Linked DNA regions of Homo sapiens: region 2 is linked to region 1. The links are contacts of gene promoters, found by promoter capture Hi-C in blood cells and fetal thymus (Javierre and others, 2016). All regions are on one chromosome and are shown on one strand. The core of a region is centred on a gene start or on the middle of the fragment in contact, and the rest is flanking DNA. Distances in the headings are between cores, read along the strand shown.

Evidence for each region. The method cuts DNA at HindIII sites, captures the fragments that hold promoters and counts their contacts. A CHiCAGO score of 5 or more calls a contact.
Region 2: a fragment that was not itself captured here is called in contact with the fragment with the promoter of RARG in region 1 in 1 of 17 cell types (total B cells); the score reaches 5.2 in total B cells.

The regions. Positions count from the first base shown.
Region 1 is chr12:53,228,867-53,235,038 of GRCh38, forward strand. It overlaps RARG (retinoic acid receptor gamma), which reads right to left and starts at 3,343. Exons shown (of 10, transcript NM_000966.6): 1 at 3,108-3,343; 2 at 2,303-2,369. RefSeq lists silencers at 3,029-3,158, 3,479-3,528. The HindIII fragment of the contact is 21,807 bases long and covers 1-6,172 here.
Region 2 is chr12:53,339,029-53,344,357 of GRCh38, forward strand. It overlaps a transcript of SP7 not described here. Among named protein-coding and RNA genes, the nearest start is that of SP7, 5.3 kb to the left of the region's middle. The HindIII fragment of the contact is 2,419 bases long and covers 2,031-4,449 here.

The DNA of each region.
Region 1 (6,172 bases), core at 2,093-4,592:
CCGGGCATTCTGCCTCCTTTTCTTTCTTATCCCTGGGCTCCCTGTTTCTAGGAAGTTCTCCCTGCAACCTCTCCTCCCCCAAAAGTAGGCTTCCCTCTAAGAGTTTAAACCTGAGCCCAGGGGAAGGGGAGGAGAAGGAGGTAGAGAGAGGAGATGGGAATCCTAGTGCTAAGTAGGTGGTTCCTATCTTCATCCCCTGACAAAGGAAAAGTTTGGCTTTCCTAGGAGCCCCAGAACTTCTCACCTCTCTAGGCAGTTAGTGGGCTAGGGAGGAAAAGTCACCCCAGCCTGGGTATCTCCACCAGTCAGAGCCATAACAGACTGCTATGAAGGGCAGAGAAGGGCCAAGAGACTAAAATGCAGAGAGACCATGGGGTGGGCAGGCCCAGAGGTAGGGGATGGGTATATCTGCCTTTCTTTCCATCAGTATTTGCTTCTAGGATGTATAGCTCTCAGTCTTTATACCTCTGGTTTTTATTTTTGTTTTTGCTTGTTTTTCTTTCTCTCCTCTACCTTGGCCTTCAAGCCCTTGAGGGTAAACTGTCATGGAGGTTACAAGAACCCAGACCCCAACGCCATCACATTTCACTCAGCCCTTATGAATGAAGCATCCCCTGCCCCTCACCATGGCACCACCCATACACCCAGCACCCTCAAACTCTTTAGCCCAGTGTCTTCGCAGGCCCTAAAAGTCTGAGCTCCAAGCCTCCAGGGTCCCTCTCCTTTTCCTTCTCCTATTCCCCTCCGAAGTTCTCATCCCTAGTTAAGCCCTGATGGAGCCAGGAGTTTGGGGGCCCCTGAGGCCCCTGGGCCACAGCTCAACTGGCCAGGCCACATTCCAGGTGGATTAACCCCTCCAATGACAAGGGTGAGAAGCTACTAGAGGACTCCCCCATCCCCATGTTCCCCAGACTTGGCTTAGACTGGGAACAGGGCTCTCTGCCTTAGCCCTCCTTGTCTTTGCTTCTCACCTACCAATGGGAAACACAGGCAGGTAGGGCAGTGGGGGTCCCCACAGAGGGATGCTCAGCTCCTGATCCTCACCAAGGAATGATGCTGCATGTGAGCCAATGAGAGTTGTCCTTGGCCTTCCTCTTATTTTGCCTCAGAGAAGGGACTTGGGAGTTGAGTGAAGAGAGGAAGGGGGTAGAGATTCCTCCCATTTCTGAGCCTTGGTTCTGTCGTGGCTGGGAAGAGAAGGGGAGGGTCTTAAACCCAGGGTAGGAGAATGGACTAAGGAATTGAAGGCAGTGCAGAGTAAAAGGAAGTCCTAAACTGAGGCCCCAGGTGCCTTGGTTCTTTGGGGGACTCATGGAAAGTAGAGAACATTCTTCCTCTACTAAGATGCCATCTCAAATGGTGGGGCAGCGGGGATGACAGACTAGGGGAGAGGGGCTCTTACAAAGCTGCTTCTCTTAGAGCTGAGGTGGAGTTGAGGGGAGGGCATGGATGAAGGGGGCTGCCGGATGGAGGGGGGTGTGTTTCCCTGTCGCCCTGCCCGCTCCAGAGCCTGGAACAAAGCTGCTCTTGTCGGCCACTCTCCACCCGCTGCCCCCCTCCCCTCTGTATAAACACGACCACCTTTTTCCATGACCCCATCTCCAGCCTGGGCAGAGAACCCAGGCATCCTCTGCTCTAGCCTGGGCCCCCAGCCTGCTCCCCAGGAGGCAGCAGTGGGCCAGGCTTCCTTGGCATTGTGCCATCCCTGGGGGAGTCCAGACCCTTGAGTCTCCACCTCTCATCCCCAGGTGCCCTCCCTCCACCCTACTAGCCCCAGGGAGGGGCAGTGCCCAGGAGGCAGGCAGGCAATGCCAGTGGAATGTGTGTGGGCATCAGAGGGCATGGACAGGGTGGGGCAGAGGGGGGAACTGGAGGTGCCAGTTAGGTGGCTTTCTGAGCCAGGGGTGGGGGTGTGCCGGGGTGTGGGGGGGCGTGCCCCATGCTGCCTACTAGGCTGTAGGCCACAGTGCGTGTGTGTGTGTGTGTGTGTGTGTGTGTGTGTGTGTGTGTGTGTGTATGTCTGTCTATATGGGATACCCAAGCTCCAGGCTCCCTGCACACACTACCCCCACTCCCCTGTCTTCTCTCTACTTGCCTCAAGGATATGAGATGCTGGCTATGGTCCTTGACCCCAACTCAGCATCTGACCCTAAGGGCAGAAGCCTCAGACTTGAGGATTGGGATTCCAGCTGCCCAGGACCAGAGCCCTAAAGCGGGACAGTCATCTCAGTTTCTTGCCCTGAAGACCTCCTACTCAGGCTCCCCTGCCCCCACCACCACTAACAACCAAGCATCTTCTTACCCGCTGGCCGCCTGCAGAGACTGGCTTCTACATACTGGGTCAGGTTGAGGGAACTGGGCCGTAGCTGCTAAAGACAGAGAGGCAGCGTCAGTGGAACTCTGGGACCAGCACTCCTGGGTCCCTGTCCCGGTCTTCCTGCTCTTTCTTTGTTCCATTTGGGCTTCCCTCAAGAATACTCCAGAGGTGCCCCCCACCTTGGCTGGAGGGAGCCAAGGCTCGCACCTGGGCTGGGAACGTGTGGGAGGGAATCCAGCGCTTCAAGGAAAGTTCACAGATCCCTATCCTATGCACCAGTCCTTCGGAACTCCTGGACGCGGAGGGCCAGGCTCACTTGCCTCTGGACGTTTTCCTTGCCTTCTGATGTCCAAGCTGTCCCATTCCACTGGGGAGGGAGGAACTTGGACCAGCATGGAACATCAAATCTACCCCTCAGAGCCCGGGGGTAAGGGGGTGGTAGTCTTTCCCCGCGAGAGGAAACCCTGTCTTCTCTCACATTCCCAGCACAAAAATATAAGGAGGAATGCCCCCTGGCTGAAGACTTCCCCAAATGCTGTCCTCTGCTATGCACCAAAATGAAGGGCAGATGACCCAGCCCATCCTCAGCCTGTTAAAATCTTCCCCATTCCCTTCCCACAGCAGGACTGGCCTGGGTCGGGGCAAGAAGCCCCCCTCAAGCCCGGCGGCCAGCCTGGCCAGCCTCGGGAGGGCATTCGCCCGTGCAGCTCCTCCGCGCCCCCTCCCCCAGCCGCCTCGCCGGAGGACCCAGGCGACGGGGCGGGCGAGCCTGCTTCCCCGCCTGACTCACCTGGAGTGGGAGGGGGAAGGGAGGCGGCGGAGCCCCGAGGTCCCGGCGTCGGGCAGTCTCTTGGATGGAGCGTCGCAATGTCCGGGGCTCGCCGTACTGGGGGGCTCCTGGGGGGGCACGGCTCTAGGCTGGGACTGTCCCGGGGCCTCTCGGAGCCCGCCCGCCCACGTGACCGCCCCAAAATATCCGACACATTTTCTCCCAAACCGCACACTGACTCTGCAGGCGGGGACACGGAAAATATTTTCTTTCTTTTTCTCCCTCCCCACCCCCCCCCCAACCTCCCTCCCTGCCCAACTCCCTCCTCCCCCTCCCGCCCTCGCTCCTCCCTCCCCTGCCTGCCCCTGCCCGGCTCCCTCCTCTGTGCCCTGGGGCTGGGGGGCGGAGGGATGGGTGGGCGGGAGGGGGACTGGGCGGGGCGGCCCGGGACGCCTGGGTCTCTGCCCTTCCCATTTGCTAGGCTTCCGTGACTCCATCCTCTGGGAGGCCGGGCACGGCTGGCAGAGGAGGTCAGTGTCCTGGCCCCGTGATGCCAACCTTTTCTCTCTGGCACTTTTCTCCTTTCTGCCTTTTGGGGGGACTAGTTGAGTTGTCTGTGGCCAGGCTGTGACTCTTGCGAGGCCAGTCTCTGGCGCCTCCCCAGGGTAGGCAATGGGGCGGTACCCACTCCCTCCCAGTGCTGGATTGGCCGGGCAGGAGTATGCCAGATCTAGAATAGATGCTCCTGCCCTTACTCTTTGCTCAGCCTTCACCTGCAGATCCAAGTAGCCTCTCCCTTCCCCTAGCCCACCTCAGTCCTTTGGTCCCAGGAGCAAACTGGTTGACTAGTGGCTGTTGCTGGGGGTGCTGAGGCCAGGGCTCACAGACATCTTCCCTGTCATCTTGCCTGGAGTAAGCTCCAGGAGTTAGGGCGCCTGGGTCCCTGGCTGCCAGTTGTCCCCCACCTTTAGGCCTGGATTTGGAAGGGGAGAGGCTGGAGAGGAGGGCAGGAGGAACTGTGGCTGGGAGTGGGAGGAGCCTTGGGCTGGGTGTGAGAGAGAAAGCCCAGGCAGAGGGTGTGTGTCTGCCCTAGCCAGCACCGGCCTGCCTGCCTGCCTGCCTGGTAGATGTGCCATGAATGCTGTTGACTCCGGGTGTGTGTGTGTGTGCGTGTGTGTGTGTGTGTGTCTGTGCAAGCGCGTGCGCATGCCAGTGCCGAGAGTGAGTGTCTGTGTCTGATGGGGGCATTATCTGCTTCAACATAGACAGACTCTCAACCCTAGAGTGAGAGAACCCAGTGGTTTCACTCTGCATTCTACTGAGGACAGAGGGAGAGAAAAGAATGGGTCTGCAGTCCAAGCTCTGTGCACGGATCCCAAACACTCCCATGGGGACTGGAGTTGGGAGGGAGAAAGAGGAGAAGGGGAGAGTCTGAGCTAGGCTGATAGGCTGGACAGACATACCCAAAGTACCTTCCCCAGCAATGCTCGCAGGGTGACCAGGACCTGGGACACAGACTCCTGGGTCACGTCACATTTTCCATACTGGAATTACTTGGCTTTGTCCTTGCTCCCCCCTGGGGGCCAGGTGTCCTCCCTCCTGGGAAAGGCTGCTTTTGGTAGCCAAAGTCAGGTGAAGGAGATGGGGGAAAGAAGAGGCATGCTGTGGTTACCTCAGGGAATGGGAGATGGCAATGGGGGTGCAGACAAGCCCTCTCTTTCACTCCAGGGATAGGAAGAGCTAGGAATAGATACTCCAGGGTCCCGTCCCCAGGTGGCCTAGCTGCTGTTGACTTTGCTTGGTTACCCTGGGAGCAGCTCTCAGCAGTGTGGGAGGGGCGGGTGTCAGGGAGTTGGACCCAGGCGTCCAGGCTGGGGTGGGATGGCGCCCCGCCTGTGTGGCAGGGCTCCTGCCAAGAGGCTGCAAAGTTAACCCCTCCTGCCCTGCCCTAGTGGTGGCTGGTGGGAGGAGGGCGGGCCCAGTTGTGGTTTGGGAATGTGGCCCTAATTTCCCCCTCCCCCTTCCAGCACATCTGTACTTGGTTTACAGTGAATGAGCCTCCTGTCCTCATGAACCAGGCAAGGGCACCACTCCCTCCTTGGCCAGGCATTCTGACACAGAACCAGGCACCACCCGTGACACTCTCCTCTCCCTGCTGAGTATCATCTCTCTGAACTCTTCCCTTCTCCTTCTGTAGAGGGGCTTAGGGTTGGTCCCAAAGATCTACAGCTGGAGCTCTGAGACAGTGCATCTAGGTAGCAAATGGGGCCAGGGAAGCCTAAATCGGGGGACAAAACACTTGGGGTAGCCTCTGAAAACAGAGGGAGTCAGAATTCCAACTGTCTCTGCCCTCCCTTTGTCTTGGTTTGTCTGTCTGTCTGCCCGGGTCTTTGTCTCTGGTGGGCGTTTGTCTATCCATCCGTCTTGGTAACTGTAGCTCCTCCCTTCTGGCGGCCTCCTCGTCCCCAGCCGACGACAGCAGCCAAGCAGCGATGCCCAGGAAGACCCGCCCTATGCCGGCCCCTCCCCTTGGGATTGCCACTGCTTCCACCCCCGCCCCCTCTACCGCCCCTCCCCAGGACCCAGTGACTGGGGTCTGTTCACTGCAGCAGTTTGGAAGTCAAACCAAACAGCAGCAGCAGATTGGGGGACAGGGAAGAGGGGCATTGTGAGGGCTTCAGATTCTTCTCCCCACCCTCCACTCCCCAGCTTGCAACAGAGCCAGCTTTCTGTCCAGAGATTCCAGGAGGAGGCTTGGGAAGAGGGCTTCCCACTCTGGAAACTGGTGGAGGGGGCTCCCCTCATTCCTCTTTCCCTTGGGTCATCCCTATTTCTAGGCTTTGCTCTGTTTGTGGCTGCTCTACTTTGTCACCCTGGCAACTTGGAGAAATGATATCTTGGGGGCCCTAGTACCAGGCTTTGTTTGCTCCCCTCATCCCAGAGCAAAGACCAAAAGGAGAGATTATGAGGAGAGGAAAAGGATGCAGATATCTGTCCCACCTGTCCTGAAAGTCATGGGGAAATGACTTATTCAGTGCCCTGATGCTGGGGGGGCGGACAGTGGTGAGGATGAAAATTGCCCCACC
Region 2 (5,329 bases), core at 1,990-4,489, 110 kb after region 1:
GCCCAGCCTCCCAGGGGGTGGGGCAGACCAGGGAGAGGCGCCATGTGGCAGGGGCGGGTAGAGGCTGCGGCTCTGGTCCTTCCAGTATAAACCCCCTAGGCATCTGGTTTCTATCCACCACCCCCCACCACCCTGGGGGCCCCTCAGCCTCCGCCCATGGCCACCCAGACGCTGAGCTCCAAGGGATGGATGCCCCAGACGGAAGGGGTGGGATGATGCCTTTCTGATATCCCAATGCCAGGACTGGGCTGAACCACAGGAACCATTCCCTTCCCACCCTCCCCTAGGAGAATCAGGGTGGGCTTTGTAGGTTAGAGGGGGTTGAATCTGGCACCTGCCTCAGTTCTCCAAATGATTTTGGATCTTTTTGGAAAGATCAGTGGGGTGAAAACAGAATGAAAACTGGGGAGAGTGGGGCCGGGTGCAGTGGCTCACGCCGGTAATCCCAGCGCTTTGGGAGGCCAAGGTGGGTGGATCACCTGAGGTCAGGAGTTTGAGACAGCCTGGCCAACATGGTGAAACCCCGTCTCTACTAAAAATACAAAAATCAGCTGAGCGTGGTGACGGGTGCCTGTAATCCCAGCTACTTGGGAGGCTGAGGCAGTAGAATCACTTGAACCCAGGAGGTGGAGATTGCAGTGAGCTGAGATCATGCCATTGCACTCCAGCCTGGGCAACAAGAACAAAACTCCATCTCAAAAAAAAAAAAAAAGAAAGAAAAAAAAAACTGGGGAGAGTGGGAGACCTGTACCCCCTATTCCCAAGGGATGCTACTTCCATCGTCCACACCATCACCCTCTACCACCTTTCTAGGCTGGGCTGTCTCTAAGAGCCTCATCCAAAGGGACTCCCAACTCTTCATTGTTGCTGTTATAGAAGGTTTGACTACCCTAGGGAGAATCACCAGAGAATAGTGAGCAGAGCCCCTGAAATAGAGACTGACACATGCCCTAATACATACCTGATGACAGACACATTCAGATCTGCATACTTGCACACACACAAGGTGACACATAATTCATACACATTTGTACTATGCAGGCATCCATATTGACACACACTGATATATACATATACAGATAATGCTTACCCCAAGACACCCTAACCCCCAATCATAAAAATGCACACACCAGTATATATATACATGCATACAGACTCACAGCCACCTAGAATACTCCCCACATGGACTCACAGACTCCCATCAACACACGTATCTACACATGTGGCAAATGTCACATACATATACCCAGGGCTACCATTACAACTTTACAGCCCTGGAGATCTCTGTGGTCTCCTAAAGGGCATTTGGGAACCCCTCTCCCTATAAGGATCTGGAGATAAGGGTGATATGGAGGCCACTGCCAGTCCTGCAAATTGCTGCCTCCAACTCCTACTAGTATAAGAAGTTCCAGTGTACCTTTAGGTACTTTTGATCCAATACTCCACACACACACCAGAGTTCAGAGACCCAGATGGCCCCAGCGAACTCCCTGGTCCTGGGGAACCCCAGCATCCCTACCCCCACCCAGGCCCCCGCTGCTCTGCGGCCCCGCTGACTCATCTCTCCCTCTGTGGAGCTCCCCAACCACAGGGGCCTGGAAGAGAAGCTTGGAAAGTTGCGCTCATGTCCCGGGCCCCTGGTCTGGCCACTACCCGCCCATGCACCCAGCCCAGCCCTTGTCTCCAGTGGATACTCCAGCGACAGAGAACATAGAGGGGACAGGAAAGAAGAAGGCACGCAGAGACAGGGAAACAGAAAGACACAGGAGAGACAAAGAGGAAACAACAAATGGTGGGCATACAGATGAGAGACCCTGAGGATCAGCTACTAGTCTGTTGGGTCCTCTAAGAGCAATGGGGCTGATGACCAGGAAAGCTTGCTCCTTGGGTTGAAGGAACATCCATTCATGGCCTCAGGATTTAGAGACTGCCGAGTGCCTTGACCCAGCATTTCTGACACTAGGCTCAGGGTACTTGGGGAAGAGGATCCAATTTTAGGAGGCAAAGCTGAGGACACAGGGTAGAAAGGAAGCTTTTAAGAGGCTGGCAACCTTTGTATAGGACAGCTTGGAAAAGGAGTTCCTCACCCCAACAAATATGTACACAAATTTACAGGTACAGACAGACTACAACTTCCCTCCCTCTCTGCTAGGTCTCCCCATCCCCTCTTCCAGCACCAGGGCTGCAAGGCAGGACCTCTGGGACTGACTCTGGCTCCCCTCTTCCCTGAGCCTTGGGTTCCTTCATTGACATTGAGCCCTGATATAATTCAGCAGCTTTAGGAGAGGCAGATCAGAATCAGAAACAGAAGTGCCATGGAAGGAGCAGGAAGGAATCTGGATGGCAGGGGACAAAGTGAAAAATGAAAGGAAGAGGAAGACTGGGGTCTGATTCTGAAACAAGGGGACCTGTCCTGGATGCCCGTGTCTAAAATGGGACAACATTGAATTAAGTAAGAACCTGGTCATCTCTAGAAAATGACCCTTTGTAAAAACGATACCCTAGAATCTGATCCATGAAATATACTAGTGTCTTTCATAAGAAGAAGTTGGGGTGATGGAGTTCTGATCACATCATCCCTAGGAGTGAGGCTGAGCAACTCAAGGGAATGGTCCTTCAAAATCCTAAATACAGGCCTGGTGAGGTGGCTCACACCTGTAATCCCAGCACTTTGGGAGGCCGAGGTGGGTGGATCACCTGAGGTCAGAAGTTTGAGACTAGCGTGGCCAACATGGCAAAACCCTGTCTCAGGCTGGCCGAGGTGGCTCATGCCTGTAATCCCAGCACTTTGAGAGGCTGAGGAGGGCGGATCACGAGGTCAGGAGATCGAGACCATCCTGGCTAACATGGTGAAACCCTGTCTCTACTAAAAATACAAAAAATTAGCCGGGCGTGGTGGCGGGCGCCTGTAGTCCCAGCTACTTGGTAGGCTGAGGCAGAAGAATGGCGTGACCGGGAGGTGGAGCTTGCAGTGAGCCGAGATCGCGCCACTGCACCCCAGCCTGGGCGACAGAGCGAGACTCCGTCTCAAAAAAAAAAACAAAAAACAAACAAACAAACCCTGTCTCTACTAAAAATACAAAAATTAGCTGGGTGTGGTGGCGCGTGCCTGTAATCCCAGCTACTCTGGAGGCTGAGGTAGGAGAATCACTTGAACCCAGAAGGCAGAGATTGCAGTGAGCCGAGATTGTGCCACTGCACTCCAGCCTGGAAGACAAGCGAGACTCCATTTAAAAAAAAAAAAATTCCTAAATACACACGTCTCCCCGCTTTCTCTGGCCTGCTGCATTCTTCCTCGGAGCCCAGATTTTTGAAATGTGGAATGAACTTAAAGAACATTCTTTCATTCAACAAATGTTCAGAAAGCACCTACTTTGTGCTAAGCACACTGGGCTAGACTTAGGCATGCAATAACAAGCAAGACAGACTCATCCCTTCACCTCACAAACTAACCAGCAACTAATACAAAAGAGTAGGAAGTATCTCGATAGAATAAGTACTGGAGGGCCAGGCGTGGTGGCTCACGCCTGTAATTCCAACACTGTAGGAGGCCAAGGTGGGTAGATCATAAGGTCAGGAGTTCGAGACTAGCCTGGCCAAGATGGTGAAACCCCATCTCTACTAAAAATACAAAAAAATTAGCCAGATGTGGTGGCAGATGCCTGTAATCCCAGCTACTTGGGAGGCTGAGGCAGAGAATTGCTTGAACCTGGGAGGCGGGGGTTGCAGTGAGCCAAGATTGTGCCACTGCATCCCAGCCTAGGTGACACAGAGAGACTCCGTCTCAAAAAATAAATAAATAAATAAATAATAAATAATAAAAATAAAATAAAATAAAAAATAAGTACTGGATGTTATAGGAGACAAAAGAGTAAATCTAAGCCAGTGTTGGGGGGGAATTAAGGAAGGCTTCCTGGAAGACAGCATGACTAAGTAAAGAAACTGAAGGACAAATAAGAGTTATCAAGTAAAAAAAGGAAGAGTGGTGCCAGTGCAGTGGCTCATGCCTGTAATCCCAGCACTTTGGGAGGCTGAGGTGGGTGGATCACTTGAGTCTAGGAGTTTGAGACCAGCCTGGGCAACATGACGAAACCCCATCTCTACAAAAAATACAAAAAAAAAAAAACATAGTCTGGGTGACAGAATGAGACCTTGTCTAAAAGAAAAAAAAAAGGAAGAGTGTTGTAGGAAGGGGGAAGAGTATATGCAAAGGCTCAGAGGTATGAGGGATTAACAACTTTTGAGATGCTGAAAATTGAGTGTGAGTGCAACACAGAGTGGAGGCTGATGGAGAAGTTCTAATCAGCTATGCAAGGGGCCTAGACTTGATCCAAAGGCAATATATGAGAATACTCGTATATTAGAGAAATGACTGACTTCAGAGAGGAGAATGAAATAAGGGCTTAGAGCCAGGCGGTTCTGGGTAAATCAGGCATTTACAATGGTGCAAGCTTGGGTGAGCTATTTAACCTTTGAGGCCTAAGATTCCTCTCCTGTTGAAAGGGGCAACTTAATATGGTAACCTCCCAGGGTTGTTACAAGGATTAGCAATAAAAAGTGTTGAGTTCTTAGCACAGTGTCTGGCACTTAGTAGTTGCTCCATAAATGGTGCCTAGCAGTATTGTCACAGTTGGGAGAAGGGCAAAATCGGAGGCAAGGAAACAATCTGTTGCAGCAGTCCAAGCAAGATGTGGGAAGGTGTGGCCTGCAGTAGCAGAGAGGATGAGCAGAAGTCAGTGGAGGGGGCCAGCACGGTGGCACATACCAGCACTTTGAAAGGCCAAGGCGGGCAGATCACTTGAGCCCAGGAGTTTGAGACCAGCCTGGCCAACATGGTGAAACCCCTTCTCTACTAAAAATACAAAAATTGGCTGTGCCAATTTTTGGCACATGCCTGTAATCCCAGCTACTTGGGAGGCTGAGACATGAGAATCTCTTGAGCCTGGGAGGCGGAGGTTGCAGTGAGCTGAGATTGTGCCACTGCTCTGCAGCCTGGGCGACAGAGCCAGACTCTGTCTCAAGAAAAAAAAAAATAAAAAAATAAGTCAATGAAGGGGTGATATTGAGGATGTGAGGTGGAGAGGATTTGGTGTCCAATCAGATGTGAGGGGTGAGTAGTCACACATGACTTCCCTTGATCTGTGTGTTGATGTGTGCACTTGCACACAGGATATGCAGGCATTTTAGAGGTATCTATTCAGTTCTGAGAATGGCTCTTGACAGTTGCTGGATCCGGCCAACAGTGAAGGGCCAGGGCAGTATCTGAGGACCTGGCCCTCAGTCTCCCAGAAGAACCCCCGCCTCTGCCCTCTGCCCCAATCCCTCCTGA